Regions from separate parts of the Homo sapiens genome. Here regions 1, 2 and 4 are each linked to region 3. Evidence: promoter capture Hi-C in 16 types of primary human blood cells and fetal thymus (Javierre and others, 2016). All regions are on one chromosome and are shown on one strand. The core of a region is centred on a gene start or on the middle of the fragment in contact, and the rest is flanking DNA. Distances in the headings are between cores, read along the strand shown. Region 1 has its middle 4.9 kb from the start of EXOC1. Region 2 overlaps EXOC1 (exocyst complex component 1). Region 3 holds the start of AASDH (aminoadipate-semialdehyde dehydrogenase). Region 4 overlaps REST (RE1 silencing transcription factor).

The links. The method cuts DNA at HindIII sites, captures the fragments that hold promoters and counts their contacts. A CHiCAGO score of 5 or more calls a contact.
Region 1: a contact is called between a fragment that was not itself captured here and the fragment with the promoter of AASDH in region 3, in 3 of 17 cell types (fetal thymus, non-activated CD4 T cells and total CD8 T cells). The highest score is 7.5, in fetal thymus.
Region 2: a fragment that was not itself captured here is called in contact with the fragment with the promoter of AASDH in region 3 in 9 of 17 cell types (megakaryocytes, activated CD4 T cells, total CD8 T cells and 6 more); the score reaches 7.2 in megakaryocytes.
Region 4: a fragment that was not itself captured here is called in contact with the fragment with the promoter of AASDH in region 3 in 8 of 17 cell types (naive CD8 T cells, total CD8 T cells, non-activated CD4 T cells and 5 more); the score reaches 8.7 in naive CD8 T cells.

The regions. Positions count from the first base shown.
Region 1 is chr4:55,847,348-55,850,216 of GRCh38, forward strand. No RefSeq gene overlaps it. Among named protein-coding and RNA genes, the nearest start is that of EXOC1, 4.9 kb to the right of the region's middle. The HindIII fragment of the contact is 6,305 bases long and covers 1-2,869 here.
Region 2 is chr4:55,865,714-55,868,563 of GRCh38, forward strand. EXOC1 (exocyst complex component 1) reads left to right here. Exons shown (of 19, transcript NM_001024924.2): 5 at 2,623-2,810. Among named protein-coding and RNA genes, the nearest start is that of EXOC1, 13 kb to the left of the region's middle. The HindIII fragment of the contact is 1,036 bases long and covers 777-1,812 here.
Region 3 is chr4:56,386,210-56,388,909 of GRCh38, forward strand. It overlaps AASDH (aminoadipate-semialdehyde dehydrogenase), which reads right to left and starts at 1,282. Exons shown (of 15, transcript NM_181806.4): 1 at 1,153-1,282. RefSeq lists enhancers at 700-1,207, 1,177-1,546, 1,208-1,714, 1,577-1,626. The HindIII fragment of the contact is 3,410 bases long and covers 1-2,700 here.
Region 4 is chr4:56,930,521-56,933,220 of GRCh38, forward strand. REST (RE1 silencing transcription factor) reads left to right here. Exons shown (of 4, transcript NM_005612.5): 4 at 1-2,700. The coding sequence ends at 1,632. Among named protein-coding and RNA genes, the nearest start is that of REST, 24 kb to the left of the region's middle. The HindIII fragment of the contact is 4,321 bases long and covers 1-2,700 here.

The DNA of each region.
Region 1 (2,869 bases), core at 76-2,575, 540 kb before region 3:
GAAATACCATTTGACCCAGCCATCCCATTACTGGGTATATACCCAAAGGACTATAAATCATGCTGCTATAAAGACACATGCACACGTATGTTTATTGCGGCACTATTCCCAATAGCAAAGACTTGGAACCAACCCAAATGTCCAACAATGATAGACTGGATTAAGAAAATGTGGCACATATACACCATGGAATACTATGCAGCCATACAAAATGATGAGTTCATGTCCTTTGTAGGGACATGGATGAAATTGGAAATCATCATTCTGAGTAAACTATCTCAAGGACAAAAAACCAAACACCGCATGTTCTCACTCATAGATGGGAATTGAACAATGAGAACACATGGACACAGGAAGGGGAACATCACACTCTGGGGACTGTTGTGGGGTGGGGGGAGGGGGGAGGGAGAGCATTAGGAGATATACCTAAAGTTAAATGACTAGTTAGTGGGTGCAGCACACCAGCATGGCACATGTATACATATGTAACTAACCTGCACAATGTGCACATGTACCCTAAAACTTAAAGTATAATAATAATAAAAAATAAAAAAATTAAAAAAAAAGAGATGATTTCTGCACTTCTGAGAGAATCTCCTAGAATGTGTATACGGAGTTCAGCACTGTGCATTTGTAATGACTGCCCTTTATTGTAATATCACTCTACAATATGTATATTAAATAAGGCAGCTGCATAAGAAAAGCATTGAGACGCAATGTGATTCTGCAAGCCAATCTTTGCCTTCCTTATATTTATTTGTATGTCACATTATATTACTTTCCAATAATGATGTCAAATGTGCATCTACTATCTAACTAATATTTATTTATAATATTTACTTAATTAATATTGATACAGGTAATTACCATCCTTATTTAGTGACTCCCTGACTTCCTCCCATAAAGCTACAAAGAAATGGAAAGTATCACGTGGGGATATTTACATCTATTTCTAACAAAACCTAAAACAAACACCAATTGCTTTATGTATTTAACAGTAGAGACATTTCTTCCTTGCTGCAGTTGTTAAAGATATTTAGAAAATAAAGAATCTGGGCCTAGGTGGGCAGATCACTTGAGCCCAGGAGTTTGAGACCAGCCTGGGCAACATGGCAAAACCCCATCTCTACTAAACCCCATCTCTACTAAAAATACAAAAGATCACCCAGGCATGGTGGCATGTGCTTGTAGTCCCAGCTACTTAGGAGGTTGAGGCAGAAGAATCGCTTGAACCTGGGAGGCAGAGGTTGCAGTGAGCTAACGCCATTGCACTCCAGCCTGGGTGACAGAGCAAGACTGTCTCCAGAAAAAACAGAACGAAAAAGAAAATAAAGAATCTGGGAAGTGCAGCATTGTAACTCTCATTGTCCACCCCCCACCCCCACAAAGAGTTACTTGGTGTTCTTTGTGTTGATACTAATAGTCTTACATCTCTGAAAAAAAGTTCTTCCTTTCTTAGACAGGAACATGCATCATTAAATTATAAGAAAACAATGCTAAGAAATAGGGAAGAGAAAAATCAAAGTAAGTGTCATAATAAATGTCAAATGTTTAAAATGTCACATTTCAAATTGAAATTATATAAATCTACATGATTTTAAACATTTGAACATTTTAAACATTTGAAGATCCCTTAGCTTTATACCCAAATTAAAATTAATCAGACTGATATCAAAAGACAGTTTGGATGCCAGTAAAAGAGGCATCCAAATATGAAATATGAAAGTCCACTTCCATGAAATCTATGAGTTTTCTCACTAAACAATGTCCTCAAAGCCAGTGGAGCTACCACCGATGTCATCAGAGACAGCCCTAGAGGGAGTGGGGCACTTTTGCCCTTCCTCCTTCAGGGGTTCAAGCTGAGGAAAAGGATGGTCTCCCTCCCCCTTCAAAAGGTGCAAAATGGATTCAGGTCTTGAGAAGAACATGAAGTCTTTACAATCTTCAGGCCTCTGCTTTACTGGTGCACAGTAACAAGAGCGATTTCTCTGAGGAAACAATTAACTTCTATAAATCATCAATATTTACTACTCTTCACCATTTAGAAGAGACTTTTCCCTTGGAGCTTACTAACAATGGAAAAGTTATTTCATGCTATGTAAGTATGAGATTCCCTCATATGTGATACATGTTAATATATACAGCCTTCTTTCTATGTAAAGGAAGCGGGACCTCAGAACCTCCTTGGGCAGAACCTCCTTGGGTGACTATTACATGTTTTTCAAGTAGGTAAATCTGCCCAATTTAATCTACTAAACCAATCTGCATGTAATAACAGCTACCATTTATTGAATGCTTATACTGTGTGCCAAGCAATGAGACAAGTGCTTTACAAGAAACATCTTAGCAAATATGCCCAAGATGGGATTACTATTTTTTATATACAGATGAGAAAATTGAGGCTCTGAAGAGTTAAGTAACTTGCCCTGTGGTCACTGACTCAGTAAAGGGTAAAGACCAGATTTGAACCCCTGGTCTGTGTGATTCCGAAACAGGAAAATTCCCTTATCCCCATCGCAGGGCATGCGATGGGGGTGTCACTCACTTCTTCAGTGCCCCACTGCTCAAACCTCTAGGGGGAGCATGCAGAAGGGCAGGTTGTGGGGCTCGGACTCCACGGCAGCGTATAGGGGTGAACGTTTACAGCTCCTGAAGCCCTGCTCAGCGTTTGTTACAGGGTGCTCTTTTAGTTTAGTCATCCGGATGGCTTGTGTTAGCTAGCTCAATTAGACCTCCTGCCTAATTGCAAGGAGAGGGCTTTCTGTGTCCTGAGGTTTCTTGCCTTGGTGTAACCGGAAGAATCGGATCCCACGTGAGGGCTTGGAGAATGAGTGCAAGATTTTATTGAGTGGAAGTAGCTCTCAGCAGA
Region 2 (2,850 bases), core at 45-2,544, 520 kb before region 3:
TCAGGACAGTCATATAGAAAAATACATACCCTACCTGGATCTGCCTCATTAAGAAATACTACCAAAATCAGTGAGAAGAGTATTACTGTTTTTGAAAATGAAGTGTCTAACTTAAAAAAAAAAAGGCATTCAATTTTTCAGGCCATAAAACAAGAGTATAGACACGTTCATGTGTATAAACATTAACCCTAACTGAGATCGATTTTAAGAATACTGAGAAGATCCTTAAGGATCTCATTTTGAAAATCACTTGCTATATACGTCAGTAACTCTTGCTTTGGTTTAGTGGAGTTCAGGGAATAGCTTCATTAATGTCTACAAACTTGTTTTATGGACCTTGAAATTACAGCCTTTAATTCCCATTAAAAAAAAATGTCTCTAAGTTTTGAGTGATGTTAGAAAACAAATAAAAAATTATTACCACCCCAGTTTAAGAGCTCAATAATTAAGTAAGACTATTTTGATTATAAATGGTAGCAGTGGCAACTTGGTAGTTTTTATTGTTGACAATTGAATACGTAAGTTAAATAATGGGGCTCCTCAGCAGAATAAGGTTTGTAAAAGAGGACTTTTCAGCAGTTGAAGTAGATTGAAGTTTTTATTTGGCCTTTTTTTTCATTCTTTTACTTGCAACCAGCTTTTTAAAAAAGAATCTTTGACTTGAATCCTTAAATGCTGGCTTGAACTGTTATTTTGTGTAATTTTTTACTTGCCTCAATCTTGTCCTTTCTAACCATGTTTTGTGACTAATCCTCTGTGAGGGAGTGTCTGGGTAAAGCTTTTGGGCCTTAAGTAACATAACTAGGCTACATGCATGAGTCACAACTGACCTAAATATAATCCCCAGGAAATGATTAGTTTGCCAGGTTTCTCCTCTAAGGGTTAGTTAGTGCTGTTTCTTAAAAGACTAAGAGAAATTAGAAAGATAAATATATTTGTAGTCACTATCAGAAAGTGAATAAGAAAAATGAACACGGCAAATTTAGCTTCTTATGGATCTTTCCACTTGGTAGTTGATTTGGCTGTCTTTTGAACTTTAACATGAAGTTCAAATGAGATATGGGTAGTATTTTAAAAATTTAAGCCTGTTTACTTTTCTACCCAGCTAATATTCTTTGCTTACTTTCCTCTGCTTTTTTCATACTTTTTACTCTCCAGAACTGCCTAAAGTTACAGAAGGTGCGTAACACCTTTTCTTCTTCTATTCCATATGTTTTTATTAGTTGCCTTTGTTATATACCGTTGGTTGTATGTTTTATGAAATGATGTACTGGGACAAATTTATTTTAAAAATCTACATAGTAATAAAATTAATGATAGTATTTATTATTGGCTTTCAAGGACATATCATTAGAAAATACTTCTGAAGCAGTTAATTATAATCATGTAAAATATTTGTTTAAGTCTACTTGTGTAAGGACCTGTACAGAATGATTTGGGCAGTCCCTGCCCCCTAGTGGCTAATAAGCTGTCACACATGACAGTTGAACTTTTTCGCAGTGAATTAAATGGACTCGTTGAAAGGACAAGGAGATCGGTAATATCTCTCTAAAGAACTTATATACTAAAATCTGTAATTGCCTGTACCAAAAGTTTTAGTCTTCTTTTTGTTCTGGGACAAATGAACGTATTTCAGGTCATGCTGAATGTAAATATTCATTTTCCTATAAAATAATGAATACTAAAAGCATCCAGAGTTTGTGGTTTAAATCATGCCCCATTAAGTCTGTGAAATTGCTAACTTTATTTAGAGTGATAAAACAACATCTTAGGAGTTAAAAATGATTTCTTTCATTTTACCTCCTAACCTCAAGCTTTATATACAGTGCTCACATGCTAGTGTATTTCCTCAAAAAAAAAAAAAAAATGAACTGAAACATCTAGAAAGCATTTCAGGTTTGACCTCTTGGTCTTTTGTTATAAAGCATGAAGCCTGTTTAACTTTTTATAATTTCAAACAGCCATGTTGTTGTTGCTCTTACTTAGAGTTATTGAGAAAGCTGTAACTTATCTTTAGAAATGTTATCAATGCATGTGAAATTTTTTTAAGCAAAGAAATGGATAATTCAGTTAATATTCTAGTGACCAAAATAAATTATGGATTATAGATGCATTTTTCATTTTAATTAAAAAGTATTTGGCAAAAATATACATACTGAAGATGAAAGTAACAAAAGTAACAAAAGAAAAATTTCACCTGGGAAAAAAAGGAAAGCAAATTGTTTTTGTGTGTACTGAATTCATAGTCATTGTTTTGTTAGAGCAACAGCCACATCAGGTACGAAAAAATGTTTAGGTTTGTTCCCACCTGTTTTTGTATTTTGTTTTTACATTTTAGCTTAATTGTATTTTGGGAAACTGTGGTGAAAGCCTGTTTTAACATTTGTAAGTTAGTGCATTAGACTGCATGCTTTTTATTTATTTTTTAGAACTTTATTTCATTAACATATTAAATTATTTATAAAAATAAAGTTTGATTTTTTCATATCATTTGAATCATTCTATCCTCTTTTTCAGCTGCTAAATGTGACCTGTGCTTATAACTATACCTACCTATATGTATTATGTTATAGTCTTTTCTACTTTTTTGACTATTTTACTTTGAATTTTTACCTCTTTAAGAATCTGTTCCAAGTGGAGAAAATCAGAGTGTGACAGGAGGTGATGAAGAAGTAGTAGATGAATACCAAGAGTTAAATGCAAGAGAAGAACAGGATATCGAAATAATGATGGAAGGCTGTGAATATGCAATCTCGAATGCGGAAGCCTTTGCAGAAAAATTGTCCAGAGAGCTGCAGGTGCTAGATGGGGTAAGACTTTCCTGAATTCTATGAATAAGTGATGTATAGT
Region 3 (2,700 bases), core at 32-2,531:
CAGACATACAATGATCATTATGTAAATATAAGGGAGGCTTTCTGCAGCAGGCGCTTAAATTATGAGGAATGAGTTCATTTCGCAACATACAGGTAGCGCAGAAGGGTACCTACACATCTATACGATAATTAAGATGTTTCTTTCCATTTTCCCAATGGTTGCTACAGACATTTAAGGTAAAATCCATTCTTCTTGTCTCAGGTTTTCATTTTCATTCATTGAATCACAAATAACATTCTCTGCAGTAGAGAATACTAAACTTATTAATGCCCAAATGTTTGAGACCTTAAAAAGGAAAAAAAGGCCGGGCGCGGTGGCTCACGCCTGTAATCCCAGCACTTTGGGAGGCCGAGGCGGGTGGATCATGAGGTCAGGAGATCGAGACCATCCTGGCTAACAAGGTGAAACCCCGTCTCTACTAAAAATACAAAAAATTAGCCGGGCGCGGTGGCGGGCGCCTGTAGTCCCAGCTACTCGGGAGGCTGAGGCAGGAGAATGGCGTCAACCCGGGAAGCGGAGCTTGCAGTGAGCCGAGATTGCGCCACTGCAGTCCGCAGTCCGGCCTGGGCGACAGAGCGAGACTCCGTCTCAAAAAAAAAAAAAAAAAAAAAAAGGAAAAAAAAAAGCAAACTCTGGTAAGCAGATTTTACATGTAAAAGGAATAAATTTACTTGCTACAACTGTAGAAGCTGCTATTTAGTCAACAAAGATCTTAAGAGTGTCAGCAAATTCAATTGCTATGGGGCCTCTCTCTAGGCCACTGGCTGTTTTAAAAATGGATAAATAATCTAGAAACTTTATTTTCCCAATTCCCCGGCTTCTAAATTTACGGTATGCAACGAGTAACAATGCAATTTACAGCTTCCTAAACATTTCTTCATTGCTCTTCGAAACCACTCTAGGGGGTAGCTGAGCGCGGAGCACACTTATTTCCATTTGAATGGAGGGGCGGAGGCTAGTGACGCAGGAGTGTACACACAGGTCAGGGTTAGTCTGCACCACACCAGCACGCCAGACCCCGATGTATCAAATCCGAGGTCAGGCAGTGGTCCTGAAGCTGAGCAAATGTATGTGGAAGCAGGCTCAGGCCTAGCGGCACTTCGCCTCCTTCACACAGACCCCCGCCGGACACCGCGCCCTGCCGCGACTCACTTAGCAAGTCTCGCGGATTAGGTTTGATCGCATTCGGCCCTTTCCCGGATAGCTCGTCGCGGATACTTCTCACAGCGAAGCAGCAGCTCCCAGAAGCCGTAAAGCTATCCCAGAGCGAGGCACCATACGTAAATCTTCCGCGTCGCTACGTGACGTCAGTGCGAGCGACCCCGGGCCGGCTGCGTGGAGCTGGCGCTGCCTCTCCTGAAGCCGAGGCGCTAACTTGAGTGAAGAGGTCTATAGGCTTTTTCACTTTTGGTTATCTGCTCAGGCGCTCCTTGGGGTCGCGCATGGTCTCGGACAGGGTTTGCAAGGACTTCGGAGCTAACCAGTTTGGAGCCATAACCCTTTCGTACTTGCCAAAAAACTCTGGGCAAGACTCTTGAATTTTGAGCCGCAGTATTCTCGTTCATAAGGTGAGAATAAAAACATCACCTAGGGTTGATGTGAAGAGAGATGAAATCATTGTGAAATAGGAGAGTTATTGCTTTCAACCAATGACATTTTCTGGAAACGTGCTGGAGATATGGCTGCAGCAGTGACGCCTGCAAACGACGTTCCTGTCATCATGATGCTGACATTTTAATTGGGAAGCAGATTGAAACGATAACTAAGGAATTTGACAGGAGCATTTAGTAGGACCTGTAAAGAAATTAAAGCAGGTCCGAGGTGGAGTTTTGTAAACTATATGCCTGAATAGAACTTTCTGTTTCCAAGGGAATTGTTACAGTTGGAGACATGTCAATTATTACAATAAGCGTCAAGGGCAATAACAGAGGTGTTTTAAAGCTACTGTCTGGTGGCAGAATAATCGGGATTTTTTTGTTTGGGGGGTTTTAGCCGGGGGAGGGACTGCGAAGACAGCTCTGCATCAAAACAGTACGTGAGAAAAAAGCATAGGACGCTCTCGCAGCCGTAGTTGTTGGTGACAAGAAACTGTGCTTCTAATCTAAGCAAAAAATATCTCCACATGCCAACTATACTTTTCCAAGATGTACCATGGACTACTCAAACTAACACAGCCTTATTTATGTATTTAGGTTGGAAGTGGGCAAAAGTGTATCTTGTCTATGTTTCTATGTTTCTACGTTGGGATGACACCATCATCCACCCAGCCAGACAGTTATCAACCTTCCCACTTTCTTAACCTCTTACATCCGATTAGACCCTATGTCCTCTAGTTCTCAGTCTTGAGACCAGCACCCAGCTGGCTACATCAGAATTGCCGGTGGTGATGTTTTAGAAGATTCCAAATTCCTGGACTCCATCCCCGGAGGTTCATCCCCTAGTTTTCTAGTGAGGGGCCTAGAACCTGCGTTTTTTAAGTGTCATGTTCATCGCCATTACTGCTACTTTAGTTCAGGTCTTCTTGGTCAGCTTTTTCCTAAAACGTTTTCAGTTTTGTTTGCCTCTGATTGACTCTGAATTGCTGCCAAAATGATGTTTTATTATTCCAGTATCATCATCCAACTCTCTGATATTAATGATACCTTTTTTAAAGTTTTTCTTCCCTTGCAGTATCTATTTCCCTCAAGTTTCCTTTTTTTT
Region 4 (2,700 bases), core at 20-2,519, 540 kb after region 3:
AGTCAGGAAGTGCCAAAGGGTGACAGCAAAGTGGAGGAGAATAAAAAGCAAAATACTTGCATGAAAAAAAGTACAAAGAAGAAAACTCTGAAAAATAAATCAAGTAAGAAAAGCAGTAAGCCTCCTCAGAAGGAACCTGTTGAGAAGGGATCTGCTCAGATGGACCCTCCTCAGATGGGGCCTGCTCCCACAGAGGCGGTTCAGAAGGGGCCCGTTCAGGTGGAGCCGCCACCTCCCATGGAGCATGCTCAGATGGAGGGTGCCCAGATACGGCCTGCTCCTGACGAGCCTGTTCAGATGGAGGTGGTTCAGGAGGGGCCTGCTCAGAAGGAGCTGCTGCCTCCCGTGGAGCCTGCTCAGATGGTGGGTGCCCAAATTGTACTTGCTCACATGGAGCTGCCTCCTCCCATGGAGACTGCTCAGACGGAGGTTGCCCAAATGGGGCCTGCTCCCATGGAACCTGCTCAGATGGAGGTTGCCCAGGTAGAATCTGCTCCCATGCAGGTGGTCCAGAAGGAGCCTGTTCAGATGGAGCTGTCTCCTCCCATGGAGGTGGTCCAGAAGGAGCCTGTTCAGATAGAGCTGTCTCCTCCCATGGAGGTGGTCCAGAAGGAACCTGTTAAGATAGAGCTGTCTCCTCCCATAGAGGTGGTCCAGAAGGAGCCTGTTCAGATGGAGTTGTCTCCTCCCATGGGGGTGGTTCAGAAGGAGCCTGCTCAGAGGGAGCCACCTCCTCCCAGAGAGCCTCCCCTTCACATGGAGCCAATTTCCAAAAAGCCTCCTCTCCGAAAAGATAAAAAGGAAAAGTCTAACATGCAGAGTGAAAGGGCACGGAAGGAGCAAGTCCTTATTGAAGTTGGCTTAGTGCCTGTTAAAGATAGCTGGCTTCTAAAGGAAAGTGTAAGCACAGAGGATCTCTCACCACCATCACCACCACTGCCAAAGGAAAATTTAAGAGAAGAGGCATCAGGAGACCAAAAATTACTCAACACAGGTGAAGGAAATAAAGAAGCCCCTCTTCAGAAAGTAGGAGCAGAAGAGGCAGATGAGAGCCTACCTGGTCTTGCTGCTAATATCAACGAATCTACCCATATTTCATCCTCTGGACAAAACTTGAATACGCCAGAGGGTGAAACTTTAAATGGTAAACATCAGACTGACAGTATAGTTTGTGAAATGAAAATGGACACTGATCAGAACACAAGAGAGAATCTCACTGGTATAAATTCAACAGTTGAAGAACCAGTTTCACCAATGCTTCCCCCTTCAGCAGTAGAAGAACGTGAAGCAGTGTCCAAAACTGCACTGGCATCACCTCCTGCTACAATGGCAGCAAATGAGTCTCAGGAAATTGATGAAGATGAAGGCATCCACAGCCATGAAGGAAGTGACCTAAGTGACAACATGTCAGAGGGTAGTGATGATTCTGGATTGCATGGGGCTCGGCCAGTTCCACAAGAATCTAGCAGAAAAAATGCAAAGGAAGCCTTGGCAGTCAAAGCGGCTAAGGGAGATTTTGTTTGTATCTTCTGTGATCGTTCTTTCAGAAAGGGAAAAGATTACAGCAAACACCTCAATCGCCATTTGGTTAATGTGTACTATCTTGAAGAAGCAGCTCAAGGGCAGGAGTAATGAAACTTTGAACAAGGTTTCAGTTCTTAGTTTGTAAGGTATATTACATTTTATATTCATTTATGATAGCAGACAACCTTTTAAGATTGCTTTAATTAGTATCTGATGTTGATTTTTAAGTGGCATTCTTTTCCTTAGGACTTTTTATGTATACCTGTTGATTGTTGTGTAAATTTTAGTAAATCTAAGAGAGTGTACTAAACCAGCAGGTATCTGTTAGCTTATGTGTTTAATTGAAATTAGAAGGCTAAGATGGTATAACAGCATTTTATTGCTTTGTCCAGCTACAACTTGTCATTTTTTTCTCCATGTCTTATCTTCCTGTTTCACTTTAGTTTATTCTTCGTTTTTTATTGAGATCTATAAAAAATTGGCTTACTTAATAGCAAATTACTTGAAGAATTTGCCTGCTTTATATAAAGTTAGCACTTTAAGATTTTTTTTTTTAGAGATGAGAAGACATTTAAATTGAAGAAAAATTCCCCCAGCAATAGACAGTCTATCAGTCCAAGTATTTACTTCCTGAGTTTTGATCAATATTTTTTATTTGTGTATGTTAATCGTCATAAAAACAGTGATTTTGGTGTGTTTTTTATTTTGGTGCTTTAATGGCTTAAGATGTTGCACATTTTTTTTTTCTTTTGGTTTCTGTTTATGTTTTTTTGCCTATGCAGTTAAATTTTTCCTAGAAATAGCATTTGTGTTGAACAGTAACACTTTATACATATATATATGCATGTTTATTTTGTTTGGCGTCTTTGGAGGGATGCTTTTAGACTTGTTTGCAAAAGGGCAGTTTTCTTTTTCTTTGCTGCAGTTGTCTATTTTGCAGAATAATAGTGTGTGCAAGTTTGTGAGCAAATGAAATATGCAGGTTCAATCTATTGATTTTGATTTTTACATCTTATATCTATGCCAGAATCTGTATTTCATATAACTTATTTATTTCGAATGGATGTAGTAAATTCACAGCTATCAGTTTTGATTTTGCAATAAATAAACCACTAGGTTGCATGTCGAACAAATTTTTATCTCAAATACCAACCATCAGTTTTTTTTTTCATGTGT